2 separate regions of the Homo sapiens genome follow, and region 2 is linked to region 1. The links are contacts of gene promoters, found by promoter capture Hi-C in human tissues and cell types (Jung and others, 2019). All regions are on one chromosome and are shown on one strand. The core of a region is centred on a gene start or on the middle of the fragment in contact, and the rest is flanking DNA. Distances in the headings are between cores, read along the strand shown. Region 1 holds the start of CDIP1 (cell death inducing p53 target 1). Region 2 overlaps C16orf96 (chromosome 16 open reading frame 96).

Region 1 (3,352 bases), core at 594-3,093:
AGCTGGGATTACAGGCGTGTATGCCGGGCTAATTTTTGTATTTTTAGTAGAGACGGGGTTTCACTGTGTTGGCCAGGCTGGTCTCAAACTCCTGACCTCAAGTGATCTGCCTGCCTCGGCCTCCCAAAGTGCTGGGGTTACAGGCATGAGCCACCACGCCTGGCCAGAGTTCTTAAAATGACCTACAAATCTCAACATGACTTGGATCCAGCCTGCCCCACTGACATCCTCACCTTTCTGACTCTCTCACCCAAGGCAATCCCTCCCTCTGGAATGCCCTTCCAGAATAGAATGTCTTTTCAATTTCATGCCCCTGCCTCAGCATCGCCTCCTCTGAGAGGCCTTTTCTAACCAACCTGTCTAGTGGCACCACCCCGTAACTCTGTTAGGGCGTCCCTTCCTCTCCTTCACAGTCCTGGGCATTTTGTGGTTTCCTTGTATACTGTCTGTAACAAAGGAAGTACCTGAGCAAGTAGCCACCCAGTGGGTTCTTCTTCCTGGCTGCCCAGATAGAGCCAATGTATCAAGACAGGGGAACTGCAATAGAGAAAGAGTTTAATCCACACAGAGCTGGCTGAATGGGAGACCAAAGTTTCATTACTCAAATCAGTCTCCCTGGAAATTCAGAGCCTAGAGTTTTTAAAGGGTAATTTGGTAGATAAGCTGCCAAGGAGTAGGGAGTGCTGATTGGTGGGGTGGGAGATGAAATCACAGGGTGTTGAAGGATGCAAGAACTGGTTGAGTCAGATTACAGCTCTAGGTGGCCTTGGCTGGTGCATCAGACTGCAGGGTCAGAAAAACACCTAAGAGTACCAATCTTAGGTTTTACAATAGTGATATTATACCTAGGATCAACTGGGGAGGTTTAGAATCTTGTGGCCTCTGGGTGCATGACTCCTAAACCGTAATTTCTTTCTTTCTTTCTTTTTTTGAGATGGAGTCTCAGTCTCTTGCTCAGGCTGGAGTGCAGAGGCATAATCTCAGCTCACTGCAACCTCCATCTCTCGGGTTCAAGCAATTTTTGGGCTTCAGCCTCCCTAGTAGTTGGGATTACAGGTGCGTGCCACCATACCCGGCTAATTTTTGTATTTTTAAATAGAGACATGGTTTCACCATGTTGGCCAGGCTGGTCTCAAACTCCTGACCTCAAGTGATCCACCTGCGTCAGCCTTCCAAAGTGCTGGGATTACAGGCGTTAGCCACTGAGCTGGGCCCTAAACTATAATGTCTAATCTTGTAGCTAACGTGTTACTCTTACAAAGGAAGCCTGGTTCTCAGGCAACAAGGGGGTTTGTTTTGGGAAAGGGCTGTTAACTATCTTTGTTTCAATATTAAACTATAAACTAAGTTGCTCCCAAAGTTAGTTCTGCCTATGCCTAGGAATGAACAAGGACAACCTGGAGGTTAGAAGCAAGATGGAGTGGGTTAGGTCAGCTCTCTTTCACTGTCATAATTTTCTGTTGTAATTTTTGCAAAGGCAGTTTCAAGCGCAGGGACAGTGACCGTGTGGTTCAAGGTTTTATGTAATGCACCTCCCAAACTCAATAAATATTAGTCGCATAAAAGAAAAAATGCAGCCCTGGAGGAAGATGCCCTGCCCTGTTGCTGGCATGAGTGAAGAGGAGGCGCTCACAGGGACGGTTCTTTCCCTATTCTCCAGCCTCGTGTACATTGGGCAAACAGGCCCCGACCATCCCACGTGCTCAGCCCCAGCTCTAGGCCAAATCGCCTCCGCTCCCACTGACGTCATCACGGCGCATCACGTGCCTCCCGAGACCCCACCCCCCACCGTGACGTCCCGGGCCTCGGCCCTGGTCCAAAGTCTACCCGCCTCCTTGTGACAGAAGTGCGACTGCCAGCTGCCGAGGCGTTCGGTCCTGCTGTTGCGGCCGCTGCCCCAGGGCTGCGGGGACGGTGAGTCGACTGGACGCATTCGGAGACGGCTTCGCGCGGGAGCCCTCCTCCCCGGGGGAAGGGTCTGGGCGCCAGCTCTCCTCAGGTCGGGGCGTGACCTCGGACCGTGGCGCCCCCTCCCCGCCCCCGCCCGCGGCGCCTGGGCGGTGCATGCCGGGCACCGTAGTCCCCAGCCTCTCAGAGCGGGTTGTGGTGGGGGGGGTGACCGGGCGGACTACAAGTCCTAGAAGCCTCTGGGCGGTGGGGTGGGCGGTGGGTTGGGGGGTTTCGTTGTGCGCGCAAAGCCGCGCGGGGCTGAGGGTCTTGTTCTGCCGGCGCCTGTCCGGACCCGGGCCCCTCTCCGCTTTCGGCCGGCCTCGGGCACCGGGCTTCTGGAGGTAAAGCGGGGCCGGCGGTTGGGGCGCGGCATGGCGGGGCCCGTCCTCCCCTCAGGGCGCTGCCGAGACCTAGCGCGGCCCTGGGGATGTCGAAGCCGCTGCGGTGGCGGGGCCCGGGCGGGCGCCCCGCTGTGTGCCGCGGGGTTGTGCGCCCGGAATGGCAGCCTGCTCGCCCGCACGTTTTTCCGTCAGGGAAGGTTGTGGAAATTGCCATCTCCGTCTTGCAGGGCGAGACGGGGAGGGGAGGGGTGGGAGTTGTTTTCTCAAGGAAAGGGGGTCGAGGAGGAGCCCCGTGGCCGAGCCAGCCCCTGCCGAGCCCCGCGGGTGACCTTGGCCGTCCCGGAGCCCAGCAGTGTCCTGCACCCGCGCCCGGCTCGCCGACGTGTGGAGTCGGGATGTGGCGCTCGGCCGCGCATCCCCGGCGGAGATGGCGACGGCCTGGCCTAGCTTGGGGCTAGGAGTCGCGCCTTCGAGGACCTTGGCTTAGCGAGTTCCTTGGGGGGCTTCTCAACAGGTGTTAGATGAGGTGGGGCGAGTGGCTGTGAGTTCCTCCAAAGGTGGGCTCAAGATCCTCTGCGTCAGAACCACCTGGGGCTCTTGGGAAACGGGCAGATTCCTGGGGCCCACCCCAGGTGTTGGGATGCTGTAGTTCCGTCGCGCTGCCCAGGAATCTGCATTTAGTAGGCTCCCCAGATCATTCCCGGGCGCAGCTGGGGCTGAGAACCTGTCCCAGTGAGGGGGTTGGCGGGCCCGGGGGCAGGGACGTTCCATAGTGTTTCTGCCAGTTTCTTCTGTATTCTGGGGCCTGATGCTGGGCGGGGCGGTGCCCGGGCAAGTTACTGCTCTCCTGGGTTCTTTGCTGCTTCCCTTGGGGCCGATCTAGGTAGAACTGGGTGGAGGGAGGCGTGCCAGCTCTGCCTTGCCCTCTGCCCTTAATCGGAAAGGTTATGCCCAGTCACTTGCCAGTCTCAGAAGACTCCCCCTCTACACATTCAGTTACGAAAAACGTGAAACATACAAAAGTTGAAGGAATTTTACAGTGAACACCCACAGACCACCAC
Region 2 (3,352 bases), core at 358-2,857, 34 kb before region 1:
TTGAAGTCTTCAGCAAAGATGTCCATTCTTTCTGGGTGTACCTGTCAAAGGAACTGAGTCTGTGGACTGGGGGTCCAGGTTCTGTCCCACCCCTGCCTTTTCCCGTGGCTCTAGGTGACTAAGAGCTTGAGAAGGAAGAACGGGTTCCAAATCCAGTGTTTCCCAAGGAGTGGGAAAGGGTTCCATGGGCAAACAAGTTTGGGAAATGCTGGGCTTGAAAGCATGTCAGGCCGGGCACAGTGTCTCATGCCTGTAACCCCAGCACTTTGAGAGGTCAAGGTGGGTGGATAACTTGAGGTCAGGAGTTCGACAGCAGCCTGGCCAACATGGTGAAACACCGTCTCTACTAAAAATACAAAAATTAGCTGGGCCTGATGGCATGCGCCTGTAATCCCAGCTATCAGGAAGCTGAGGCAGGAGAATCACTTGAATCCAGGAGGCAGAGGTTGCAGTGAGCTGAGATGGCGCCACTGCACTCCAGCCTGGGCAACAGAGTGAGACTTTGTCTCAAAAATAAGTAAATAAATAAATAAATAAAAAACATTTCAACAGGTTTCTGTACGGCAGGACTTCCCAGAGCCTTGAATGAGCAAAAGCACATTAAGAATCTCCAAGAGGGCCGGGCACAGTGGCTCATGCCTGTAATCCCAGCACTTTGGGATGCTGAGGCGGGTGGATCATGAGTTCAGGAGTTCGGGACCAGCCTGACCAATGTGGTGAAGCCCCCACCTCCACTAAAAACACAAAAATTAGCTAGGCGTGGTGGCTTGCACCTGTAATCCCAGCTACTCAGGAGGCTGAGGCAGGAAAATCACTTGAACCCGGGAGGCAGAGGTTGCAGTGAGCTGAGATCGTGCCACTGCACTCCAGCCTGGGTGACAGAGAGAGACTCCGTCTCAAAAAGAATACAAAACAAAACAACAACAACAAAAACACCTCCAAGAGACAGGCCAATAAGGCATTGTTTTTCTTTTCTTTTTTCTTTTTTTTTTTTTTTTGAGACAGAGTCTCACTCTGTTGCCCAGGCTGGAGTGCAGTGGTGTGATCTCGGCTCACTGCAAGCTCCACTTCCCAGGTTCACACCATTCTCCTGCCTCAGCCTCCTGAGTAACTGGGACTACAGGTACCTGCCACCACATCCAGCTAATTTTTTGTATTTTTAGTAGAGATGGGGTTTCACCGTGTTAGCGAGGATGGTCTCGATCTCCTGACCTTGTGATCTGCCCACCTCAGCCTCCCAAAATGCTGAGATTACAGGCGTGAACCACCATGCCGCCCCACCGACCCCACCTTTTTTTTTTTTTTTTTTTTGAGACGGAGTCTTGCTCTGTCACCCAGGCTGGAGTGCAGTGGCGCAATCTTGGCTCACTACAATCTCCACCTCCTGGGTTCAAGTGATTCTCGTGCCTCAGCCTCCTGAGTAGCTGGGGTTACGGGTGCCTGCAACCACACCCAGCTAATTTTTGTATTTTTAGTGGAGACGGGGGTTTTACCATGTTGGCCAGGCTGGTCTCGAACTCCTGACCTCAGGTGATCCGCCTGCTTTGGCTTCCCAAAGTGCTGGGATTACAGGCGTGAGACACCAGGCCCCGCCGAGAAGGCATGGTTTCTCCAACAGCTTTGTCTAAGGGGCCCTTTTGAGTAGCTCATGATGCAGCTTTTAACAGCGTTCTTTCTGCTTAGATGGGAGCCATCCAGCCCATGCCTAAAGCTCCCACAGTTGCCATGATGATCAAATACAGGCCCTGATCTGTGAAGCCGGGATGATACAGAAAATTACACTATTTGGGGGAAGTTGTTAAACCTGGGGGTGTGGAGAGCTGGCTTCAGACCCCAGCTGTGACTCATCAGTTGTGACGGGGACAGCTGCCTCATGTCTCGGGGACTCCATGTCCTTCCATGCATGGTAGGGTGTTAGAAAATACTTGGCTGATGGTTTTTGGCTACAGAAGTACAGAAGGAGCTTGTATGTATGCCTGCACTATTATGATTATTCCACTTTCCATGTGGACAGAGCTTTCCAGAAGGGGAAGAGGTTTTCTTTTTGCTAGGTTGGTGGAATATAAGTCTGCTGTTGCCAAGACTTGAGGAGCACCTGCCTGAGAATGAAGCCAACTGGGAGGAAAGTTTCACTGAGAAACGTCAGTATTGCCGGATGTGGTGGCTCACGCCTGTAATCCTGGCACTTTGGGAGGCTGAGGCGGGCGGATCAAGAGGTCAGGAGATTGAGACCATCCTGGCTAACATGGTGAAACCCCATCTCTACTAAAAATACAAAAAAAATTAGCCGGGCATGGGGGCGGGCGCCTGTAGTCCCAGCTACTCGGGAGGCTGAGACAGGAGAATGGCGTGAACCCGGGAGGTGGAGGTTGCAGTGAGTCAAGATCGAGCCACTACACTCCAGCCTGGGCAACAGAGCGAGACTCCATCTCAAAAAAAAAAAGAAATATAAGTATTGCATGAGTACCTAGATCTGGCCGTCCCTGGACCTTTTAGTAAATGAGACAATAAATCCCTTATTTTGCCTAATCCAGGATGAACGTGATTTCTGTCACTTACAACTAACGTTTTAACACACTGGGGTAGAAAGCATGGAGGGGTCGGCCAGGTATGGTGGCTTACACCTGTAATCCCAGCACTTTGGGAGGCTGAGGTGGGTGGATCACGAGGTCAGAAGTTCGAGACCAGCCTGGCCAACAAGATGAACCCCTGTCTCTACTAAAAATACAAAAATTACCCAGATGTGGTGGTGCGTGCCTGTAATCCCAGCTACTCGGGAAGCTCAGGCAGGAGAATCACTTGAACCCGGGAGGCAGAGGTTGCCGTGAGCCAAGATCATGCCATTGCACTCCATCCTGGGCAACAGAGTGAGACTCTGTCTTAAAAAAAAAAAAGAAAAGAAAAGAAAGCATGGAGGGGTCACAGAGAAGTCGGTGGCACTGGCCAATTGGAGGGTCCACATGACCACACCCTCACAGCTGCACTCTTGGCCTAACAGTAAGCTTCCTAGATTTTCCTCATTGCTCCAACCCCCAGAGGCCTGAGCAACGCAGCTGGCATGGAGGATGCTGGGGGAGGGCCTACCTTGTCAAGCATGTTCTTCAGCATGTCCACTTCTTTTCTGAGGGCTGTGATGGTGACCTGGAGTGCATGAAGATCAGTGAGCAAGTCCTGCAGGGTCTGCATTGACTGCAAAAGAGGAGGAGAAAATGTGAAGCCGGGTATGGCTGGGGGAGAAGGTAAGTGAAGTGCAGAAGCTTTCTGATGATAGCCGTTGTTCAAGAGGTCCTCTTGGCTCTCCCAAGGCCTAGACTGGAACCTACAAGGGGACCAGGAGATGCTACTAAAGTCA

The links. The method cuts DNA at HindIII sites, captures the fragments that hold promoters and counts their contacts. A contact is called where the count stands out against the background at its distance.
Region 2: a fragment that was not itself captured here is called in contact with the fragment with the promoter of CDIP1 in region 1 in 1 of the 25 tissues and cell types used here (mesenchymal stem cells).

The regions. Positions count from the first base shown.
Region 1 is chr16:4,537,264-4,540,615 of GRCh38, reverse strand. It overlaps CDIP1 (cell death inducing p53 target 1), which reads left to right and starts at 1,843. Exons shown (of 6, transcript NM_013399.3): 1 at 1,843-1,914. It also overlaps a transcript of C16orf96 not described here. RefSeq lists silencers at 1,927-2,216, 2,227-2,446. The HindIII fragment of the contact is 9,452 bases long and covers 1-3,352 here.
Region 2 is chr16:4,571,398-4,574,749 of GRCh38, reverse strand. It overlaps C16orf96 (chromosome 16 open reading frame 96), which reads right to left. Exons shown (of 16, transcript NM_001145011.2): 2 at 3,085-3,189; 3 at 1-41. Among named protein-coding and RNA genes, the nearest start is that of C16orf96, 17 kb to the right of the region's middle. The HindIII fragment of the contact is 3,047 bases long and covers 84-3,130 here.